Regions from separate parts of the Homo sapiens genome. Here all the other regions are linked to region 6. Evidence: promoter capture Hi-C in 16 types of primary human blood cells and fetal thymus (Javierre and others, 2016). All regions are on one chromosome and are shown on one strand. Each heading gives the region's core, a stretch centred on a gene start or on the middle of the fragment in contact. The rest is flanking DNA. Distances are from core to core; before and after follow the strand shown.

Region 1 (3,202 bases), core at 68-2,567, 420 kb after region 6:
CTCACCCAATGCATGCTTTGCAAGTTATTTTGTTTTTTAAGCAAGTCCCAGTCATGATCTTGCTTTCGGATTCATGCCTTATGCCTGTAGCCATTGAAAGCCAAGTATGTCAGGGGGAAAAAAAGGTCCTTCAGTTAGCTGAGGTTTTATTCTGTTTCTACTTTGGTGGTTTGAAACTAATTACAGACTCGGTTGTGCCTACATGTGCAAAATGAAATGAGAGGTTGAGCCAATTACTTTAATAATGAAGAGAGGAAAATCCACTTTTCTTTCCATTATCTAAAGATTTCAGGCATATGTGAGTTTTATATATGTATATATTAAATTATGTGAAAAATTGGCCTCAAGCCTTCATTTCACTTTGCCTGTCTAGAAACAGACTCAAATTTTGTTTCGGAAAGGAGATGACATGCCTTAGGCATCTTCCAGGAGACTAGAGGGTCTTGTTGTAACAATTGCAGCTAAGATTGATTTTCTTATTGTTATGATGAATACTTGTGCCTGCCTGGGGGAGGGAGGTATATTATGAAGGATGACTTTTAAAAAAAGGCTGGAATACCTAGAATAAACTTTAGGAGGAAGTTTCCACTCATATTATTTATTCATTCATTTATTTAGTTCTTTTCAGGACCTGCAAAGCCCTCCTGGCCTGGTGCTCACTCCCTTTCTAATTTCATCTCCTTCTGCCACTTGCCCAAACTGCCCCAGCAGGTCTGGCTTCGTTGCTCTCTTTCCATTCACTGAGCACACTTCCAACTCAGGGCTTTCAAGCTTACAGTTCCCTCCGTGTGGAATCATCTTTCCGTTGATTTTTTCATTGTTCACTCCCTCATTCCCTTGGATCTCTGCTCAAATGTCATTTTATCAGAGAGATGCCATTCCTAGTCACCCTATACAAACTGCCTGCTCCACGCCTACCATTCTCTGTCCCCCTTGCCCTACTTGATGTTTTTTTCTCCCTAGTACTTACCACCATCTGTGTGATATATGTGCATGAACTTATGTGTTATTTTGATAAACATGACCATATATTTTATTTTAATAAACTTTATTTTTAGAAGAGTTTTATATTTACAGAAAAATTGTGAAGATGATACAGAGAGTTTTTCTTTTCTTTCCTTTGTTTTTTTTTTTTTTTTTTTGAGACGGAGTCTTGCTCTGTTGCCTAGGCTGGATTGCAGTGGCACAGTCTTGGCTCACTGCAGCCTCCACCTCCTAGGTTCAAGCAATTCTCCTGCCTCCGCCTCCCAAGCAACTGGGAGTACAGGCGTGCACCACCACACCCGGCTAATTTTGTATTTTTCGTAGAGACAGGGTTTCACCATGTTGGTCAGGCTGGTCTCGAACTCCTGACCTCAAGTGATCCACCTGCCTTGGCTTCCCAAAGTGCTGGGATTACAGGCATAAGCCACCACACCCAGCAGATACAGAGAGTTTTTCTAAACCACATACTTAGTTACCTTTATTATTAACATCTTACATTAGTATGGTGCGTTCGTTACAATTAATGAACCAGTATTGATACATTATTATTATTTTATTTTATTTGTTCACCAGTTTGGAATGCAATGTATTTTTAAACAGAGTGAAAGACACCTGACAGGTAACTGAACAAGTTAGCATTAGCTGGGCCCAAGATTAACCAACTTGTATCAACATTCACAGACTTCTGCAGATTCCCTGAGGACAGCAATATCCAATAGTGTTTACTTGTTTTGTGAGCACAGTAATAGAAGCAAAGCGAGACCTTTGTTAATTAAAGCACATATTTTATGCAGATTTCCTTAGATTTTACCTAACATCCCTTTTCTATTCTAGCATCCCTTCCAGGACACCACGTTACATTTAGTCATCATGTCTCCTTAAGCTTTTCTGGCTTTTGATGACCTTGACATTTTTGAGGAGTACTGGTCAGATACTTTGTAGTATGTCCTTCAGTTGAGATTTGTCTAATTTTTTTTTTTTTCATGATTGGAGTTTTGGTCTTTTGGGAGAAAACAGAAGACTGACAAAGTACCATTCTCATCATATCATATCAAGGATACTTACTATCAGTGTAACTTATCGCTATTGATGTTGGCCTTGGTCACCTAAGGTAGTGTTTGTCAGGCTTCTCCACTATAAAATTACTCTTTCTCCTTCCTTTTTACACTGTACTCTTTGGAAAGAAGTCACTAAACACATCTCAAACTTAAGGAGTGAGTGAGAAGTAAGTTACGATCTACCTCCTCGTGGGAGGAATATCTACATAAATTTGGAATTATGCTGTTTGGGAGATTTGTCTCTTCTCATTTATTTATTCACTCATTCATCTGATAACTCATACATATTTATATTTTTGGTTATAATCCAGTACTACTTTGTTTTGTTACTCAGTTGTTCCAGTTGTAGCCATTGGCAACTCCTCAGTTGGCTCCTATGACCCTTTGACATAATCCCGTAATTGTGTGTCTTGTGAGGTTTTAAAAAATTATTATATTCTTACTTTCTGGCACTACAAGGCACTTTAGGCTAATTGTGCATATTTCCTGCTCCAGTTCTGGAATCAGCCATTTCTCCAAAGAGTCTGATTCTTTTTTTTGTTTTGTTTTGTTTTGTCTGTGTGACGGAGTCTTGCTCTCACCCAGGCTAGAGTGCAGTGGCACGATCTTGGCTCACTGCAAGCTCCACCTCCCAGGTTCATGCCATTCTCCTGCCTCAGCCTCCCGAGTAGCTGGGACTACAGGCACCCGCCACCATGCCCGGCTAATTTTTTTGTATTTTTAGTAGAGACGGGGTTTCACCATGTTAGCCAGGATGGTCTCAATCTCCTGACCTCGTGATCCACCCACCTCGGCCTCCCAAAGTGCTGGGATTACAGACATGAGCCACTGTGCCTGGCCAGAGTCTGCTTCTTGTTACTGGAGACTGGTGGTTAGACACCAAGATTTGGGCACTAAGTGTGCTCATTGCTCTTGGGCTATTGTCAATGCTTCTTGGCCCTCCCAGCTGAAAGAGCAAGGAAATGTGTATGTACCCTAACCCATGTATATACCCATATCTATAAATATTTCTGTATGTAATCATCTTTTTGATATTAAGCTAAACATGAATTCACACTGGTTTCCTACTGTAATCTATTGCCACATGGATCATTCTAACTCGCTCTCCTTGCTTATATTTAAATTCCCCCTCAAATAATGAGAAATCTGGCTCCCACCAT
Region 2 (3,344 bases), core at 514-3,013, 460 kb before region 6:
CATAAGCCAAAAAGCATTGAGCTGGGCCTTGAAGGCTACATAGCATTTTGACCCAGGAGAAAGGAATATGTGATGAAAGAATGCAAAAATAGAGAACTTGGATATAGTAATTGATAAATATGATGTTTAATGGAATCTAGTCTTTTCCTATGTCTTTAAATATTTTTCTTGGGAAAAGTCCTTGAAACAGTAAGTCTATTCTATTTTCCCCACTCTTCTTTCTATCCTGAAAAACTTCATCCACCCCACTTTTTGCTTCCCTCCCTTTTATCTGTTGGAAGAGATTTTACTTTTTGTAGAAAGGATGCCAGTAGAATCTCTTTCAGGACAAGCCGAAGTAGCAAATAAACTGTCCAGGAAAACAATGTGCTTTGAAATAGGAGACGGGAGTTGGGAGAGAAAGATTTGGCCAAAGAAGGGCAAGTAGTCTGGAATGTGTAAAACAGCATGAGAGAAGGAATAAGAGAAAGGGTGTTAAGGCCGGGGAAGGCTCTTGGGCCTTCATGGTGAAGGGCCCAGTTGCCAAATCCCAATGCACTGTGTACTAACCTCCCCTGGGGCACATGGGTGTTTCTTGCTGATTCTCTTTATAGGGGACAAAATGTGAGCATTGCTCCTATAAGTGAAAGAGAAACAAAGGGGAAGAAGACTTTATCTACCAACTAGTATGTCCCAGGTACTGTTGGGCATCTTTATTATATGCGCAATCACATACACAAATTTGAAAGAAGATATTATTATCCTCATTATACAAATGAAGAGGCAGAGAAATAAAGAGATGCAGTGATTGCCCAAGATGTTAACTAGTGGCTGGTCAAAGTTAGATTTGAATTCAGGTCTGTCTCGCATTATAACGGTGGTTTCCAACTTTCCATCTTTTTTTTTACAGCTCTGCTGATGAAAGACAAAACTTTCCTAGCTCCCTCCTTCTCACTTCCTACCTCTTCTCAACACCATTGGAGTTTTCTGCACCAAATGCACCCAACATTTCCTTCCAGAACACCCTCTCCTTGCTACAACAAGTCAAGATTTTAGCATCTCTTTTACATTAAATATACATATTATTTTGACCTGAACAAAGCCCAAACTTTGTGATAGCCTCTATTTTTTATTACTTCTCAGGAATATTTATAGCAAGTGTTACTGTACTATGAAGATGTGCTTCTTAAAAGGGCATAGTTACCTACAGTAGAAAGGTATGAGAATCTTATGAGCCCAAGTAGCCCAACAGCCTCTCTCTTAGTGCTTATAGCCATGATCTATTAGCAGAAAAATAAGAGAACCTAAATTCTAGGTTCTCATTATAGAGAGAAAAATAGGAAAACCTAGATTCTAGTCCAGGCTCTTCCATTTGCTAGCTGTGTGACCTAAGTCCCTTTACTTCTTTGAACCTCAGTTAGATTATCTGTAAAATGAACGAATTACACTTTCTTTGCTCACCTCAGAAAACTATATTGAGTGATCACCTTGAGTGAAGTAATAAACCATAAATCAGAAATTATAAGACAAATGAAGGATGTTAACTTTAAATCAATCCTTTGTGGAAAAAAGGGCATAAATAAAATATGAGATATTATTTTTATTTCTTGGTAGTAAGTTCAAGTATAAACATAAAGTCAACCTAGCTTAAGCCAAAAAGGAGACATTATTTGCTCAGATAAATTGTGAGAAGGGTAGGGGTGGATCGGAATTGGCCAGATCCGAGTCTCCAGCACTTACGGGGCACCATCCCTGCCTGTTACCTCTGCCTTCCTGCATATTGGAATTGTTCTCTTCTCTTCATGAGTTCCTTACATGGGATGAGCATGTGATTGCCAAAGCTCCAGGCTTGCCTTCCAGCTTTTGTAGTGTCTTTTTTAATTTGTAAAATATAACTTATGTATGGAATACATAGAATAGTGTATAATAATATATGTAAAGTTTAGGCTTCCATTTTTACAGCTTGCGATCAGAGAGAGAAGAAATTTTCTTCCTACAGCTCGGGGTAGAAAAGTCCCATGGAAATCCTTTGATTGGCCTGGCTTGGGACATGTGCATGCCTTAAATAGATCTCCCTGGCTAAGAGTGGGTATTACCATTGACCCACCTTGGGTCTCAGGTCCACCTACTGTGGCCAAGGGGTGGAGAAAGGACAGACAAGGCCAGGCCCATTTGTATTCATAGCCAACAATGGAATTTAAACAATAAAATATATGTGATGGGGATGCTTCTGTAGGCTTCTGTTTCTTCCAGGATGCTCCAGCTCTGGAGATGCAGGCCTGCCTGGGTGTGTAATGGGGGACCTTGCACTGCTTACACTTGGGAAATCTTGCCAGGTTTTGCTCAGTTGAAGTTTGGCTAGGCATAATATCTAGAATAAGCACCTACTTACATTGTCAGACTTAGTACAGAGAATGCAGTAAAATGAATTGGCTCATGGGTGATCTCTGATCCAGACCCGATACTTCTTACTGCAGCAGGGGAGGCAGAAACTGAGTAAGCATCTGTGCTACAAAAGAGAAGTATGAGCATCCAGCAGCACATAACAGAGGCCCAAGAATGCACTGATATCATCTCAGTGAAGTGTTATGGTTGGGGGAAGGCCTTTTAGGTAGAGGGATTAGCATGCGCAACAGTCTGGGGTTGGAAAGAGCATGCTGGGGGAAGTAAAAGAGGGCCAGTGTGTCCTCATATAGAGAACTAGGGGTAGAAGGGAGGCAGGGTCCAGATTAGGCATCTCAAGGAATATTCAAATGCCAGGCCCACAATGTATGCTTACCAGTGCCCTCTCTCCATCTTTGGCCAGAATGGGCCTGTGACCATTACAGGAGTTCTGTGGCCCAGCTCCTGACCCCACCATATCCTGTCATGATGTTGTCATCCTCTTTAATAGCAAAATTTAGCAATGGAAGGAGCTTCAGCAGTTGGGAAACAGTTGCAAGGATATTTCCCCCTTTCAAAAGAGCTAAGTCCTGCTGCTAATAATAATTATTATTAATGCTAATCATCACATTAGATACCTCTCTTGCCACAGAGCACGTCAAACCTTCAAAGCTCCCAGGAGCAATAATTACCCCTCCCTGATCCCCTATGAAACAGGTAAGTAGGGGTCTGAGTACGGGATAAGGAGCCACAAAGTCTTCAAAATTAGACTTTTTCTCTTTGTGGAGCAGAAAAAGAAAGGTACACTACAAAGCACCCCCCACCCCCAGCTCCTGACTGTAAAAGTGGAGGCAGGAAGGGTAGGGAGGGAATTGTGGCTTCACAGGTGTGTTGAGAAGCCTAATTAGAAGGTTCAACGTGCACTTTCATGAGGAAAAGGGCTGCTGAGTGCCTATTCTCCAGACTTCAAATGCCCCTTTTGG
Region 3 (3,185 bases), core at 497-2,996, 440 kb after region 6:
ACTGACAGCTTACACCATGTGCCTGAAAAAGCTGTAAACACTCAACACCAGCCCATGAAAGCATCTGGGAGGGAGGTTGTACCCTGCAGATCCAAAGCGGCAGAGCTGCCCAAGACCATGGGAGCCCACCTCTTGTATCAGTGTGACCTGGATGTGAGACATGGAGTCAAAGGAGATCATTTTGTAGTTTTAAGATTTGACTGCCTCACTGGATTTTGGACTAGCATGGGGCCTGTAGCCCCTTTGTTTTGGCCAATTTCTCCCATTTGGAATGGCTGTATTTACCCAATGCCTGTACCCCCATTGTATCTGGGAAGTAACTAACTTGCTTTCGATTTTGCAGGCTCATAGGCAGAAGGGACTTACCTTTGTCTCAGAGGTGACGCTGGACTGTGGACTTTTGAGTTAATGCCAAAACGAGTTAAGACTTTGAGGGACTTTTGGGAAGGCATGATTAGTTTTGAAATGTGAGGACATGTGATTTGGGAGGGGCCAGGGGCAGAATGATATGGTTTGACTGTGTTCCCACCCACATCTCACCTTGAATTCCTCCATGTCGTGGGAGGGACCCAGTGGGAAGTAATTGAATCATGGGGGCGAGAGCAAACTGAGGACCAGAGTGGTTATAAAACTTGTCTGAATTCATACCATTTACAAAGTAAAAGAAGAGTCTAGAGCCCAGGTCTCCTGAGTCCTCAGAATCAACCAAGTCAAATAAGCTCCCCTATTCAAAAAGAAGAACCTTCAAGAATATTAATTTTGTGCCCATCTAAAAGCCTCACTGAGCTGTGCTAAAGGTAATAGGCATTGAAGAAAACGTTCTCACAGAAACTCCCAGCTGCAAACACAAAGAAGCAGCTCTCCAGGGAACAGGGTAAGGATTGTCTGAAGAGATCTATGCTGGTGAGATTACAAAAATCATAATATATGAATAAATGAACATATGGAAGGAATCAGCAAAGCCCTCTCATTCTTCCCGTATGTAAACTCGGCCTTTGCCTAAAGTCATTAAGTAAACACAGATGCAGCCAAACCAGGCACCAGATGGCAAACAAGAATTGGAATAAAAGGTAAAGAAAGCTTTTGGTGTTTACTCAAAGATGGGGAAAAAAACCATGATCCAAAATGCTGTGGTTTCCCCAGAATGGCCACCTGGAGTCACCAGGGCCCAAAAGTGACCAAATAAAACAAAACAAAACTAGAATAATCATGATTGGGAAGTTGTAGGAAAACCGCTGCTATCTTCTGTGAATGGAATCCCATGTCAGAAGAAACTGGTTATTCTGGGAAATGAAATAAATGGTTAAATCAAAGTACTAGGACCAGAGAGCAACAGGAATGTGGCAAGAATCCACTTTTGCTGGGCACTCACATCTGTCCAGAGCTTTGTATTCTTGGCCTTATATAATCCTCACAATTACCCATTAGGTATTGGCCAAATTTTATAAATGAGGAAATTCCATAAATGGGTTGAGAGAGATTAGGCCCCAAGGTCACACCACAGGAATGCCATCCTAGCTGTGGCCAGTGCTTCTTTGTCCATTCCCAGCTTCGTAGCTCTGATTTCAGTACCAGATACAGGGGAATCCAGGCACATTCTCTCTGCCTTTCCTGCCCAAACCACTGGACCTAAGTAAGAAGGTCACCTGGTCAGGTACTGCCTTGAAGGGAGACCAGAACAGACATGGAGTGGGGAACAGAGCATTCCTGAAAACTTAACTTCACCTTTATTTCACAAAAGACACCCTTGCACATGCCTCATCCACCTCTTAGCTTGTACATTTGCCATGAGCACCAGTAATGAAGGCAGTCCTTGTGAATATTTGCTTTTCAGTATGCATGAGTTTATATATTGGGGGTAGAAAATTCCAATAATGTTTCAGCTTCAACTAAAAGCTGTATCTTGTTCTGTCCTTGCCTCTAACCTGACAGATTATTTTTTAATTGCTTGGTAGAGATAAGTTTGGCTTCTGCAAATAAACTAGCAAACATTTCCTGCCCAGGCTACCAAACACAGCCTCACCTCACCTATCTGGCCATATGTAAAAACGTTCATTCAAATAAGTTTTGTTCTTTTGAGTTTTACTCTCCCAAGCGCAGAAACTGGGTAGTGAGGGGTGCAGGGGTATGGGGAGAATGGTTTCAACCAAACCATTCATTGCTTGCAGGTGGGAAGGTAAGGTGGAAAATGCTTTCCAGCTAAACAGACCTGTCTGATAACCCTACCACTAACTAAACTTGCTCTCTTGGGCAGGCCACATTATGCTTTGAGTTTTAGTTTCTTTCTCTCTAAAATGTACGTGGAAGGGCTGTTTTCAGAATTTTTTTTTCACTTTCCTCTTACCCATCTTCTCTTTTTCTACATGGTCAATCTCCACGTGGCTGTTTTATTTTTTCCCCATTGTTCTTTAGCAAAGCTTAATCCAGGATGAATTCAGCTTTGTGGACACTATAAATCAAAGCCATACAACCATAAGGCAGGCTTCTACCACTCTATACTAATTGTTACCAGTCTCTTAGCCCTGGTTTCTGGTTGGGTTTGGCCAATGGGCAGCCCCAGCAGGAACCTGGAGAATAATGAAGTTGTTTATTCCCCCAGCGCTCTCCTTGCTGGGTTGACGCAGGTTAGCTACATCCATCTACCATCCTTCTACAATGGACCACAGTTCCTGTGTGTGGCCCTTTCCCTACAATTTTGTGCATGATGGGAACCTCTCCTCCCTCCCTGTCCTCCTTCAGGCTAAGAGGTTGTAATGGCTCCTTACTGTTGGTAATCATTAGGTACTTGTTTCTTTACCTAAACCTTTTTAAACAACTCTTCTTGAAGCTTACTTCAGTTACCCAATGTGAGTGTCAATCTCTTTCCTAATAGGAACCTGAATAAATATATCACTTCAGCTCAATTTCCCATTTTCTACAATGACTATTATCAAACTTTGCCAATTTCCATCCCTGTCTTTCCTCTCATGTTCAGAGAGATGACCTCCTGTTTATTCTTAGCCACCAACTACCTCTAAGAGAAAAGCCATTAGAAAGACAACTGCCATTAAATCTCCCAGCTTTCTTAGATCCGGTAGTGAGCTGGGGCTAGCTCAGCCCTGCTCGCAAGAGCATATTGTGCACATCTCTTCCCAGCTTCACATCCATTCCATCACATTCAGAGCTTGAAACTGGCCAAGATGGAA
Region 4 (3,153 bases), core at 418-2,917, 400 kb after region 6:
AGTCCTACCTCTGAAACTTACTAAATATGTGATCTTGGGTAACGTGATTGAACTCTCTGAGCCTCAGTTCTGTAATCTGTACATAGAGATAATAATACTTTTATCAAAAAAGCATGTCTTTTTTTTCCTTCTGATTGATGAGATGCTTTCTGTATTTTTTCTGGATTTAAACATAGTTTCCAAAGTTAAAATATTAATAGTACTTTTCCCTGTCCCATTGGGTTGTTTAGAAATGTAATGTGATATATGACATTTTGGCCTCTCTGAGATGTCTTGTTCCAGCCCAAAGATTATTAGGGAACCTCATGTCATTTGAAAGGGGAGAAAGATAATTTATTGATAAGGTTCTGCATGTCATATGTATCATTTTTTTCTCATCAAAAACACTGAGTAGAACTCTATTATGATACTTGGTCCTTTACTTCATACTTTTCTATCTTCCCAGCTAGTCAGAACCATGCCCACCCCGCAGTTCCCACCCCTTGGTCAGTACCTAGCATTATGCCCAGAAAAACTACAGATGCTTCTTCACACTCCCCTCCAACCCCCACACCCCCATTACCAAAGTGTTTCTATAATGCTCTGGGAATCAGCATCTCAATTCCCCCATGGCCTCATGGTTAAACATACCATTCATTCGACCTCTCAACTGTGACAAAGAAGGAAGCCTGGGTGTAGAAACTGATTTCAGCTCCCCTCTGAAGTTGGGCGTCTCTCTTTGCTGACCACTTGGGAATTTTTTTTTCTTGCTTCTGACCCACCTCTCCCCTTTCTTTTGATAAACAGGACAGCTGTCCCCAAAGGGATGAATCCATTACCTTTCACCAGAGTTGAGTTCGTTTTCCATTTCATCTTTCTGCTTAAAGAGAAAGCCCTTTAAAAGCGCAGCGCATACATTGAGTGCGTGTACTTAATTTTTAATATGTGTGTGCCCACAGCCAAGAGAACAGAGAACCTTAAATAATAATGAAACTGAATTGTACATGTCGTATGTTTTATGTGGCACTGATTCCTAAATATGCTCCTAGCAGCCAGGTATTATTTAATACATCCCCATTAATCAAGCTGCCAAATCTAAATGAAAACCATGTTTAAATATGTTTAATAAGATTATAGCTTTTGGTTGAATATCAAACTAACATAGCTACATTTTTCCTTCCAGCCAGCTCTCATTTACTGTCTTACATTTTTACTCTGAAAGCTTTTGTACTATCAAACCAATCTTGATTATAAAACAAATTATACCACAAACTTTTAGTATCGTGAGCTTCAGCTGAGTCCCTCAGTGTAAATGTTAGGAGAAAGAACAGTTCTGAGATTTTTTTTCTGGCTAAAAAATGATATTTTTCTTCTTCTTGGGGTGAGCCTTTGAGTTTAAAAGGAAATTAAAAATTCAATTAGAGATACTAAATTGTTTGTAGCTTCTGTATTAAATGATGTCTGCCTTTTGCATAGTTATTGAAAGTGTTTCATATTAAATGTACTTTTTCTTTTTGACGGTTCAGGCTTCTGTTAGTTTTGCAATAGTGACACCTAGGGGCTGTAGAGAACATTGCATGGGCTGCTAAAATCTCAAAAACAACCCCTCTGCTCTTTTGCCATGGATAGAAAAAGTATTTGTGGGTCATTGGGGCTGATGGAGAAAGAAGGCAAATGGTACCCTGGGCGAGGTAGGTTTCCAGTTCTATTTACCAGGCTTCCAATATGCAAACAAAAAAAGGAGGTAAATAAAAAGAGGTTTTTATAAAAATAAAGAACTAGCTGAACTTGGAGTAACATACAGTATTCTAGCAGATTTTTAAAGTTATTGATAAAACAACATCATATTTATTAACATGTTTAATTCTCGTTCTTATTTGCAACAGTTTGCCTGCTGTTCTTGCCTTTGTAACAGGCATGTCCCGCGTTGATTGCAGAGAAGTGATGACTGTATGTGGTGCTTTGACTTGTTCTGTGCGAATGTCTCGCTTCTCACATCTCTAATTCTTCTATTTGCCTTGTTCAATATTCTATATCCATATTCACCCTTATAAAGTTGTCATTGAGACTTTTAGCCTATTTGTTCTCTCCACTGATATCATTATTTCTTCTAGCTTCTCAGAGCCCTTACATTTTCTCCATGTTTATATGGCTTGAAGCTTTTAAATTCTTGATCAAAGCAATCATAAATGTGTCTGTTACAAACACATTAAAATTCTTCGATTATATAAAAACTGACAAACAAGTCTTATAAAACTGTTTTTGTACTACATTAAGTTCAAAATAGGTGGCACATGTTTAACTTTGTACACTGTAGGAATTCTAAGAATCATTTCAAAAAGAAAAAGCAAATACAGTGCACAGCAATGCATATAATTCTTATAGATGAGTATTATCTATCTGTCATATCTCTCTGTAAATAATGATGGTGACAATGATGATAGGCAAAGTTTATTGATGTTTTTTATATGCCAAGCACTGTTCTAACCACTTTGCATGAATTAACTCAGTCACCATGGGACAGGAACTGTTATTATCCCAATTTTTACCCACATTCACAGAATGCTTCTGTGTTCCAACAAGGAAACTTCAACAAAGTAGTGCATGAGCTTATCACAGGTCGTGTGCAATAAGAGTTTATGTTATTAGTTTTTCCTTGAACTGCTTGGGAGTCAGTGTCACTTTTCTTAGCCCCATTAGCCTGCCCTCCCTTTGGAGTGTGCACGTCTCCTTTACTGTCTGATACCTGTCTGCTTTCCTCACTGAGTGCCTCTAGCTTTGTCTAGCAACACCTGCCCTCATAGAACTTACATTCAGTTGGGAAGATCCTAAGAAACAGCAATCACAACAAGTAATATTGATTTCAGGTAACAAGAAATGTTACAAAAGAAAGCAAAGTGATATCAGGGAGCAAAAATGGAATGACAGACTGGGTGTGAAGGGCTGGCTTTGTGAGCAGGAGAGAGGCCCTCCTGAGGAAGGGATGTTCGTGGTGAGTCCCAAATGACAGAAAGGACAGCAAGTGCAAAGGCCCTGGAGTGGGAATGAATTGAACATGTGTGAAGGAAAGCAAAAAAAGCAGGGAGGCTGGAATGTGTTGAGTAAGGAGAATACTGTGGGGCTCCTCTCTCTTTCCTTTCTCTGCTGCCAACACTTGTGTTTTCTGTCTCAGAC
Region 5 (2,911 bases), core at 16-2,515, 440 kb before region 6:
GCTCCTTCAAGAGAATACAAGGGTGTTTACCATCCTGTGAAGACATTACCTAATTGTATTCAATCACGACCCCTACATCCCTAGCCAGCACCTATGCCACTCCCTTGTAGGAGCTCTTGCTCACCTTTACAGGAAGTGGGAGCTAAGGGTTAGTTCATGCAGCTTAAATGCCACCTCCTCGAGGAGGCTTTCTCAGCCTTCTGCCTAAAAAAGCCCTTCACCTATGCTCCATCACTTAAATCTACTGTAAATGGCAATGTAGCACTTTTCACAAGATGATATTTTTCTCGTTTATCTATTTTTTTCTGTTTATTATCTATCTCCACTCCTTTCTTCTTCCCCCTAGAAGTAGCAGAAATCCCTGACATATAGAAGCCACTTAAGAAATATTTGTTGAAGAAAAGCCTGTCTTATCCATCACTGTATTCTTAGGCTCTGAAACAGACTAGGTATTTAACAATAATACTATCCAATATTTACTGAGCACTTACCATGTACCAAGCATTCTTTGAAGGATTTTACACGTATTTTCTCATATTAACTGCCTCTGAGGTAGTTACAGTTATTATTCCCATTTTACAAATGGGGAAACTGAGGTACAGAAAGGCCAAGATCCTACAGCAAGCAAGAAGTAGAGCTGAGTTTCAAATTCAGACACTCATGACCCCAGGGCTGGGCTCTGAATTACAATTCTAAGTGTTTGATGAATCAGTGAGGGATTGAGAGAACTATAGCTAAGTAGAATATGGAGTTTTGAAGGCATGGAAGAAGCAAGGTGCTAAGTATAGAGGAGATAATTCATCGCAGCTGAAAGAATTTAACTTTTTGGAGAAGTTGACAGTCTTAGGATGGGTAGGATATCAACATGTGCATTTCGGAATTCAGAGTTAGAACAGTGGCTAGGATAGAGAAAGGACAGGTTATGCACAGAAAAGGGAGGGAGGGAGGAAGGAGTGGGAAATGAGGCTGGAAAGGGAGGAGGAGGGCAGAAAGTGGAGGACTTTGAATGTCAGGCCAACAGATGTGGCCTTGATGGTGTGCAGGTAGTGTGCCATGAGGGGTTTCCACACAGAGAAATGCCATGATCAGAACCTCTTGCTTTAGGTGGTTTTGAGCCCTGCATTTATGCTGCATCTACTGTAGTTTGGATGGTGTCTCAATCTTCTCATTTCATCTGCACAGTAATCCCACAAGGTCCAGATTACTATTCCCGTTTTACAGATGACACTGTGGATGTTCAGAGAGTTGAATTTTCCCAAGTATCAGCTATTAACTATTAGAAGTAGGACTTTAATTCCCCTATGCCCGTGCCATTTCCACCACCAGGTAAACACTTCCACAACCCCAGGGAGAAAGGAATGATGCCACTGTACCCATCTCACCTTCCCGAGGGAAAGGAAGATAATTCCCTGGTCGCTTCTCCTTCTCAACCTAGAAGGCTGTTTCCAGGGGAGAGAGTTTCTGATGTGGTGGGAGGAGCCAGAGGATGGGGTAGTTAGGAGTGGGCTGGGGCGTTGGTGGAGAGAGAGCCTTGTAGAGGAGGGGAGGGCTGGAAGAGAGACAGCAAATTGTTTCGGGATGGAATTTTCCAGACAGGGCCTCAGTCAGAGAACAAATGTGCCTTCTGAATTTTCGCTATAATTGTTATTGACCTTTAGTGAAATGATCAAAATTACTGTGCTGTACCCCTCCACCCCTACCCCTTTTTCACAAAATTGTTTTCCCTGACTTTTCAAAAATGAAGTTTGGCAAGCCTAAGCCCTGACAGCCAGCCGACTGTGGGAAAACAATGCACCTCCTTATGGCCCCAAATGGAGCATTTGCAATTAATCCATTGATCTCAGTAGAAAACCCTATTGTATCAGGGCCCGCCAGGAGAAAGCTGTATCCTGCCCCTCTCCCGCCCTGCACAGAACGTTCATTGAAGTCAGCCCCCAAATTGATGGCAGGATGTGGCCCTAAAAGCCTCCAAATTAAAGGGGCCCAGAAAATAATGTAGGCTGGGTGGCGGAAGCTGGGATGGGGATTGGGGAGGTAGGAGAGAATGGGGGAGGGGAAAGGGTTTCCTTTTGAATCTGTGCAGGAGCAGAGGAGCAGGCATGTCTTTGTCCACGGGGTTGCAAACTATGAGGTGTTTCTGGTCATCCTTACTCTGCTTTCCTTAGTTTGTTCTGAGGTTTCAGACCCTTAGCTATCTAGTTTGCTGATTGGGCCTCTGTTGCTCCTACCACTGATAAAATGGACAATAATGATACTGGGATCTATAGAGCATTGTTTGGATACCACTCCCTCTGTATCACCTAATTTACTTCTCCAACAGCTTTGTGGTAAAAGTCATGGAGATTATGAGGGCTATCTCCTGTTGAGTGGGTCCTGCCTGCCAGGTCCTGCTTTACATATTCTTTTTCATTTAACTCTTCAAATCCTGGAAGTAAACCGAGCTGGGTTATGGTATAGTTTGGCCAGTTGAACAGGAACTCAATCTACCAGGGTTCAAATGGGATTAAGTATCACTGGAAATAGGAGACATATTTTAAGAGCTCTGAGACAGAACAATGTACGTGGCTGGAAGAAGGTTAGATAAACTGTCTGAGGGGAGGAATAAGCCTGCAAGTGGCTAAACTATCTTCCATGGAGGGTGGATTGAGATGATCACAGGACTCGTTTTTGCTGAGCCACATGGAGCGCTTAGGTGGGATGCTGCCATCCTGGGGCATCAGGCGTGCTTGTGAGGTTGTGCCCTGCATAACTCCAGCTCCTGGACCTGCCATGCATGCTCTCTTAGCTCTTCCCTCATCCAATACATTCTCTTCTAAAGAATGTTAAATAAATATTCGAAGAGTCATAAGCCCTTCAGGAAGACCTATGGTGTCAGCCCTGGTGGTGGGTATTCTCATTTTATAGGTGAGAA
Region 6 (3,056 bases), core at 38-2,537:
TGTGAAGATAGCAGACAATCTTAGTGCACCTGCCACTTAAGATCCGTTCAGTGAAATTATTACCTTTCACAGGTGTGTCTTTGGAAAATCACTTCCCTTTCCTGGATCTCAGTTTTCTTTTCTAGGAAAACAACATGTTTGGACTCAGCGACTGCTAAACTGTCTCCCAAACCTCGAACTCCCTCAGCCTGGGATCCTGCCTTTTATGAAAATAGTTCGGATTGGAGCTCAGGTTGGAATTCTCGCTTTAGTTGCTTGCTAGCTGTGTGTCCCAGTAAAAGCTAAAAATTTCGGATTCCCCACATCTGTAGAATAGGGATACATAACATGCAGCTTATTAGAAAGGGAAGGCATGTGAGAATTAAATTAGGTCCGTGTCCAGTACCCACTAAATTGTAAAAACTTCTCAAAGGCAGGGACCCATCTGTTTTGTAGATTTACAGAATGTCATACGTTGAAGTACGGGGGTTCGCCACGGGATTAGAAAATTTCTGTAGAGTAAGGAACAAGACACAAGGTAAGCATTCAAGAATTGTAACCATGCAATATTCTTATTTCTTACAGTCGCCTACAACAGTCCTGGTGTTTAGTAAACGGTCTGACACACACACCCATCAGGGGCTGCGGAGAGTCCGCCTGGGTAAGCTCCGCAAGGTGAGTCCCCAGAGCCGGGAACTCGCAGCCTGAGCAGACGCAGCGTAGCCGATCTTGGGTCCGCGCTCCTCCCGCCTTGCCCAGCCCTGCCCGCGGTTGGCTAGGCCCCAGGGAACGCTGCAGCCGCGGGGTGGGCAGGCGACGGCCAATCCCACGCCCGGTTCAAAGGGCCAATCAGGCCGCGCTTTACAGGGGCCGCGCTTTACAGGGGCCGCGCTTTACAGGGGCCGCGCTTTACAGGGGCCGCGCTTTACAGGGGCCGCGCTTTACAGGGGCCGCGCTTTACAGGGGCCGCGCTTTACAGGGGCCGCGCCGGCGGGGGCGGGATCGCGCGCAAGGCGGGGCTGTAGCCGCCCCGGGACCGCCCTGCTCAGGCGCCGTGGGGTTCGGCGCGGCTACGTGCAGAATCCGTCTAGCTAAAATGTAATTTCAGATTGGACAAGTACTGTAAGTGACCCTCCTCTCAGTCCCACGTGGGCGCTGGGGGCTTTTGCTGGTGCGCAGGCTCTTAGCGCGCACGCCCAGAAAGAGGCTTCTCCAACCCGGCCCGGCCCTTCCTTCCCCTTTCCCGCAGTCGTTGCCTCCTCCTCCCCTGCCTCCTCCTCCCCTTCCTCCTCCTGGCCGCTTAGTCTCACACCCGCCGGGCCGTTGTTCCCGAGACGTTGTTGAGTCCCCTGTGTCCTCTTCTGGGTGAGGCGTCCGGCCACTTAAGGGAAGGGAAGGGAAGGGTCGGCCTTGACTGCATCCCCAAGGCTGCCTATTAGGTGTCTGGAACCCGTGCTGCTTCCTCTCCGATCAGTGCCCACTTATCTGTATTCAGTACTCTTTCTCTCCTCCCCTTACCCTTGTAGGACATTTTCCTGGCATTTGAGGAGCCTTTAATTCACGTCTGGCTACCGAAGGCATTTTTAGGCTAGTGTTGCTTGTAGATTTAAACGCTTCCAGCACTTGTGATAATGTTTGAGGCACAGCTGAGTTTAGATGAGATAATGCTGTTTGGTTACAGTTATCCTGAGTAGAAAGGCCTAGGGATATCTTTTCATTTTTAGCCGTTTCCTTTTTATTTAAAGATTGACAAGGGGCCGGGCGCGGTGGCTCACGCCTGTAATCCCAGCACTTTGGGAGGCCAAGGCGGGTGGATCACGAGGTCAGGAGATCGAGACCATCCAGGCTAACACGGTGAAACCCCCGTCTCTACTAAAAATACAAAAAATTAGCCGGGCGTGGTGGCGGGCGCCTGCAGTCCCAGCTTCTCGGGAGGCTGAGGCAGGAGAATAGCGTGAACCCAGGAGGCGGAGCTTGCAGTGAGCTGAGATCGTGCCACTGCACTCCAGCCTGGGGGACAGAGCGTCTCAGAAAAAAAAAAAAAAAATTGACAAGGTGCAAAATGGTGAATTTCCCTCATCATGGGCTGTTTTCCACTAAAGCACTTCTGTGTCTTAACACAAATTTCTTCCCCGAAGAGTCAGTCATGACATGACCAAAGTCTGAAAAGCAGTTAATCCTTAGGTTAAATTTTAAAGTATGAGACCAGGAGGGGTGAGGTGCTTATTCTTTTGACTTGTAAATCAGAATGAAAGAAGGGAAAGTCTTTTATTTTGTGGCTGTTATTTAAATGGTAGAGTTTTGCTTTGTATAGTTTTTGCTTGCTTTTCCTCTTTTTTTTCTATGATCCACCACGTGTATGTCCTGATTTTTTTCCTTTTTAACTTGCTTGCTGGATTTTCCAGCCAGATGACTGCCGCTTGGTCTTCTGGGAGTCTCCTGTTAATGGGGCCCTCATGCTTGGCTCTTGACCTGATGGCCACTGGCCTGGCTCTTGGAGGACCTCCTAGTGGGAGGCCCAGAGCACTGTTATTAAGGATGATTGGGGGAACAGATCAGAGGGGGTCAGCTGGGCCTGGAGATCAATTTTGAGGGGGAGGGAGGTTGGGAGCCTGCCTGGCTGGATTTGGAAGTCAAAACATGTGTGCTGGGAGAAGGGCATAACCCCAGAGGGTGGAGAGCCATGTCTTTCTGGATAAAATTAATAAGTTTACTGGGAGGAGGCTGGGCCTTCCAGGCTGTGTTAGTTTTTGTTGTGGGCCTTGGCTTTTCCTGGAATTTGGTTCCCTTTCCCTAACCTTTCACTTATTAGTTTAAATAGTTCCCTTTACCTAACCTTTCACTTATTGATTTAAATAGTTTAAATCACAGTCAATTACCAGCTGGTTTTTAAAATAATTTGAGGTAATGAATCTTGCCCTTAATCTCCTAGCCAGAGTGGAACCCCCTACCTCCACCCCCAGGGGGATTTGAAATGATTATTTTACCAGAACGTGCTACAGAGATCACTTACCTTCTCACCCGCCCACCTTTTTATAATGGAGGGACATAGAATCAACCCAGGTGGTGTCAGAGAT
Region 7 (3,240 bases), core at 71-2,570, 380 kb after region 6:
ATAAGACACCTCATTTAATCTTGACAGTCATCCTGCTTGCAGGATGCGTGTTTTTATCCTTCTGTGATAGGAAGCCAAGCTTCAGAGATGTTTTAAGTAATTTGTCCAAGGCTACACAGAAAGGGCAGAAGCAGAATTGAAATGAAGGTCTCTCTGGGTCTATATCTTATCCTGTCATTCTTTTTCTAATTTGTTCGATTTGTTTTTTCTTTAAAAATATTTTCTGGCTTCTTAAGTGTTCAGTGGTGTATTTTCTGAAAAGAAATGCCATAGGTCACAAATCAGGAGATAGTCTGTAGCTCAAACAGAGAATAGCCTTTCAAGATGAGGCTGCTATACTAGATACATCATACCATGACTCATGGCTTCATTGATATCTTATTCAAAACTGGGATCTCCAGCTCCAAAGGAATTCCACTCACATCTTCCCCTAATGGGAAACTGAGCTTAATTCCACACTGACATCTTGACTACATGAGATTTGCTGTTAGTCTTCTGTAACAGAATCTAAGATATAGTAGATCAGATTTGGAACTGATGACTTGAGTAGCAGCTGCAAGGCTCACAGCATTGTAAAGACAAGCTCATGTCTCCTATTCAACCCAAGGATGTGTGTGCCTGTCCTGATCGTTTTCAGGAGACACAATCTAGTAAAGGGAGCCACCAGCTGAGAGAGTCCTGAGGTCTTATCTGTCATCACTTACCTGACAGACTCCCCATAGTCTGGAGCTCTGTGCTTGCTTTACTGTCCTCAGACGATGTCACTTGTTCTCTCTGGGTGCTTGTTTTATTTGTCTGTTTTATGTATTTTTTTTAATGTTTAAATAAGAATTGCCACCCATATGGGACTATCGAGATAAAGAGCCTTTGAAAGTTCCAGTGACCTCTCAGGTGTAATCAATATCATTAGAATGATAAAATATTTGGAACTGCTTTGGAAATGAAAATGCATGTAGACTTGGCGTCATTTGCTCCCCTCCAAAGAAGAGGGGCCAACCTTTGTGCCCCAGGTCTGAGGACCAGCTTCAGATTCTGGCAAGGTGAGGCAAAATTGAATTGCTTTCTTTCTGTGATTCATATTTTCAACCTGAACTTCAACACAGTCTTTTCTTTGAACTTCAGGGACCCTGGCTTGGTTTGCAGGGTACCTGCCTTCCCCTCCTTAAGAAAGTTGAGCAATTCCTGCCAGCACCTCAACTATTCCAGCAAGTCAGATGTTTTATCTTCTCATGGACCACACATCTGGTGGTTAGATGGAGGATTTCACTTCTTATCTAGATAGGCCAATTTTGGTAGACTCAACCAGAGTCACCTCCTTCAGATGCTGGGAAGGCTGGGAAGAATCCAGAGGACCCAGACAGTAGAGGTAGGAAAAACTTTTATGTGCTTGAGGAGACAGGGTTTTCATAGGCCCCTGAATGGATGATTTTCAGCCGGGGGTAGAGTCCTATACCTTTCTTGGGTGATACCAATGGATCCACAGCTGTAGATTTTACTTGTAGCTTTTGTAGACTCTGTGTATCTCAATTCTGGGAGAATTTTATCAGGGGAAGGGAGACTGGATGGAATATTCTGGTGGGCCCTTAATGAAAGATTGGCCAACAACAAGATCTATTGATATTGCAAATTTTGAAACATGCTGACAATTCCTAGCTTCCTTCTTTTGTTCTTTTATCCATTCAGATTCTCCTTCTCTTAGTTTGTCTCTGTCTCTCTTCCCTTGTCCTTTCCTGCTCTCTCTCTCCCTTTAGACATCTAAAGTCTTCTTACTATTTCTTTGTCAAATTCGGATCTCACAAAGGATACTGACATAGCCATTCGTTCATTCTAAAGAATACAATGACTAATACTATCTTAAAGAGTTGCCCCTCTTTAGAAAGGGTGTTTTCCTTTTAGTAGTTTTCAAAACTGTGTCTTTACTAAAGAGAACAGTCTCCTTGTGGACAAGTATTCTTGAAGGCAAATCATGATCAGCTTTATATCTGCGGTTTAATGAAAAATATGGAATCAAGCCACAGATATGCTGCTCTCACAGTAAAAATTTAGCTATTGAATAAGTGGGAGGGGACACAAAGAAGGCAGTTCACTTCCCCTCCCTTTACTCTTAGGAATGTGGAATCCCTGCAGTCTTGACCTCTGTGACCTTTCTACTTGATCCCTCCCCCATCATCAGTAGAGTACAAAATGATCCTCTGTAATTCTGAATATCTTGGAAAACAAATAATTATAATTAGAAGCTGAGAGTGTTCCATAACACTTCTCTAGGCTCCCAGGTCCTGGAAAATCAATAAACTGGAAAAAAACTAAGTTTATGAAATATCACTATGCTTACACTTTCTAAGCACAGACAGTTAAAAGATTCTAAGAAATACAAGGACAAATAAATAAAACAAGAAGCAGTTTCAAGTCGTTGTGAGAGAAAACTCAATCAAATGGCAAAGAGACAGCAACATGAAATGGCTCTCCACTTTCTGTTTCCTTCAGGCCCCCTGCAGATGTCATTAGCTTTCTGTAATTTCTTATCTTCAGGGGCAGTTTTTATTCAAGTCTATTTAGACAAAACAAGCTTTAATTCCAGCAGTGCTATTTGTCTTGAACCACCACCCCCCACCCTTGAAAAAAAGGAGTGGAGGAAGCATCTGAAGCAAAAATCAGTAAAAGGAGACAGTGACAAGAGATCAAAATGCATTCAGCAGTCATTTTAAGGGGAGTACCAGTGTAAAGAAAATAAGCCCTTGGAATCAGCCAATTAATCACAGACCTTCCTTCCTCCCACTGTGTGAGTGTTGCCACCCCTGTAAACCACTGACTCCATGCACTCTCACCATCAACTTTCCCTGTCACGTTCCAGACAGACTCCTGTGTCTTCAAGACCAATACATGTAAGTGGCCAGTTGAGAGCTGTGATTACTCACCCTTTCTGTAATGTGTGCCCACAAGATAAACCATCCATGCTGACCGCAGTGGTCTACCCTTGAGGTCATTCCTTGCAAACATCCTCATTGCTTAGCTGAAACCTCTACTTCTGTTCTTTTTCATGAAATTCACTTCATTTAGGGCCAGTTATACTCATCACCTGTTATGCATTTCAGAGCCTATGATTTTTGTATATAACATGTCTCCCATTCTATTTTATTTTGTAAGAGTCAACTTTCTGTGATTTTTTTTTTTAGCTCTATTTGGCTTTCTGTCACGATAAATAACAGTTTTGCTATTTGCAAAATAAAGCTGATTATCATT

The links. The method cuts DNA at HindIII sites, captures the fragments that hold promoters and counts their contacts. A CHiCAGO score of 5 or more calls a contact.
Region 1: a fragment that was not itself captured here is called in contact with the fragment with the promoter of FGGY in region 6 in 6 of 17 cell types (M2 macrophages, M1 macrophages, M0 macrophages and 3 more); the score reaches 20.2 in M2 macrophages.
Region 2: a contact is called between a fragment that was not itself captured here and the fragment with the promoter of FGGY in region 6, in 16 of 17 cell types (M2 macrophages, M0 macrophages, total B cells and 13 more). The highest score is 20.9, in M2 macrophages.
Region 3: a contact is called between a fragment that was not itself captured here and the fragment with the promoter of FGGY in region 6, in 5 of 17 cell types (M2 macrophages, M1 macrophages, M0 macrophages and 2 more). The highest score is 18.1, in M2 macrophages.
Region 4: a fragment that was not itself captured here is called in contact with the fragment with the promoter of FGGY in region 6 in 17 of 17 cell types (M2 macrophages, M0 macrophages, M1 macrophages and 14 more); the score reaches 83.1 in M2 macrophages.
Region 5: a fragment that was not itself captured here is called in contact with the fragment with the promoter of FGGY in region 6 in 10 of 17 cell types (M0 macrophages, M2 macrophages, naive CD8 T cells and 7 more); the score reaches 17.7 in M0 macrophages.
Region 7: a contact is called between a fragment that was not itself captured here and the fragment with the promoter of FGGY in region 6, in 13 of 17 cell types (M2 macrophages, M0 macrophages, M1 macrophages and 10 more). The highest score is 32.5, in M2 macrophages.

Annotation. Positions count from the first base shown.
Region 1 is chr1:59,720,215-59,723,416 of GRCh38, forward strand. All of the region lies in intron 14 of FGGY (FGGY carbohydrate kinase domain containing), which reads left to right. Among named protein-coding and RNA genes, the nearest start is that of MIR4711, 11 kb to the right of the region's middle. The HindIII fragment of the contact is 1,096 bases long and covers 770-1,865 here.
Region 2 is chr1:58,830,531-58,833,874 of GRCh38, forward strand. All of the region lies in intron 1 of JUN-DT (JUN divergent transcript), which reads left to right. Among named protein-coding and RNA genes, the nearest start is that of JUN-DT, 47 kb to the left of the region's middle. The HindIII fragment of the contact is 8,972 bases long and covers 1-3,344 here.
Region 3 is chr1:59,737,358-59,740,542 of GRCh38, forward strand. All of the region lies in intron 14 of FGGY (FGGY carbohydrate kinase domain containing), which reads left to right. Among named protein-coding and RNA genes, the nearest start is that of MIR4711, 5.7 kb to the left of the region's middle. The HindIII fragment of the contact is 1,337 bases long and covers 1,079-2,415 here.
Region 4 is chr1:59,697,899-59,701,051 of GRCh38, forward strand. All of the region lies in intron 14 of FGGY (FGGY carbohydrate kinase domain containing), which reads left to right. Among named protein-coding and RNA genes, the nearest start is that of MIR4711, 34 kb to the right of the region's middle. The HindIII fragment of the contact is 937 bases long and covers 1,200-2,136 here.
Region 5 is chr1:58,851,399-58,854,309 of GRCh38, forward strand. All of the region lies in intron 1 of JUN-DT (JUN divergent transcript), which reads left to right. LOC107984961 (a long non-coding RNA gene) reads right to left here. Exons shown (of 2, transcript XR_001738081.2): 2 at 1-4. Among named protein-coding and RNA genes, the nearest start is that of LINC02777, 51 kb to the right of the region's middle. The HindIII fragment of the contact is 4,275 bases long and covers 1-2,911 here.
Region 6 is chr1:59,295,807-59,298,862 of GRCh38, forward strand. FGGY (FGGY carbohydrate kinase domain containing) reads left to right here and starts at 1,288. Exons shown (of 16, transcript NM_018291.5): 1 at 1,288-1,344. It overlaps FGGY-DT (FGGY divergent transcript), which reads right to left and starts at 744. Exons shown (of 2, transcript XR_001738089.2): 1 at 563-744. RefSeq lists silencers at 690-1,229, 1,240-1,329 and an enhancer at 2,747-3,056. The HindIII fragment of the contact is 6,368 bases long and covers 1-3,056 here.
Region 7 is chr1:59,676,153-59,679,392 of GRCh38, forward strand. All of the region lies in intron 14 of FGGY (FGGY carbohydrate kinase domain containing), which reads left to right. Among named protein-coding and RNA genes, the nearest start is that of MIR4711, 56 kb to the right of the region's middle. The HindIII fragment of the contact is 2,487 bases long and covers 78-2,564 here.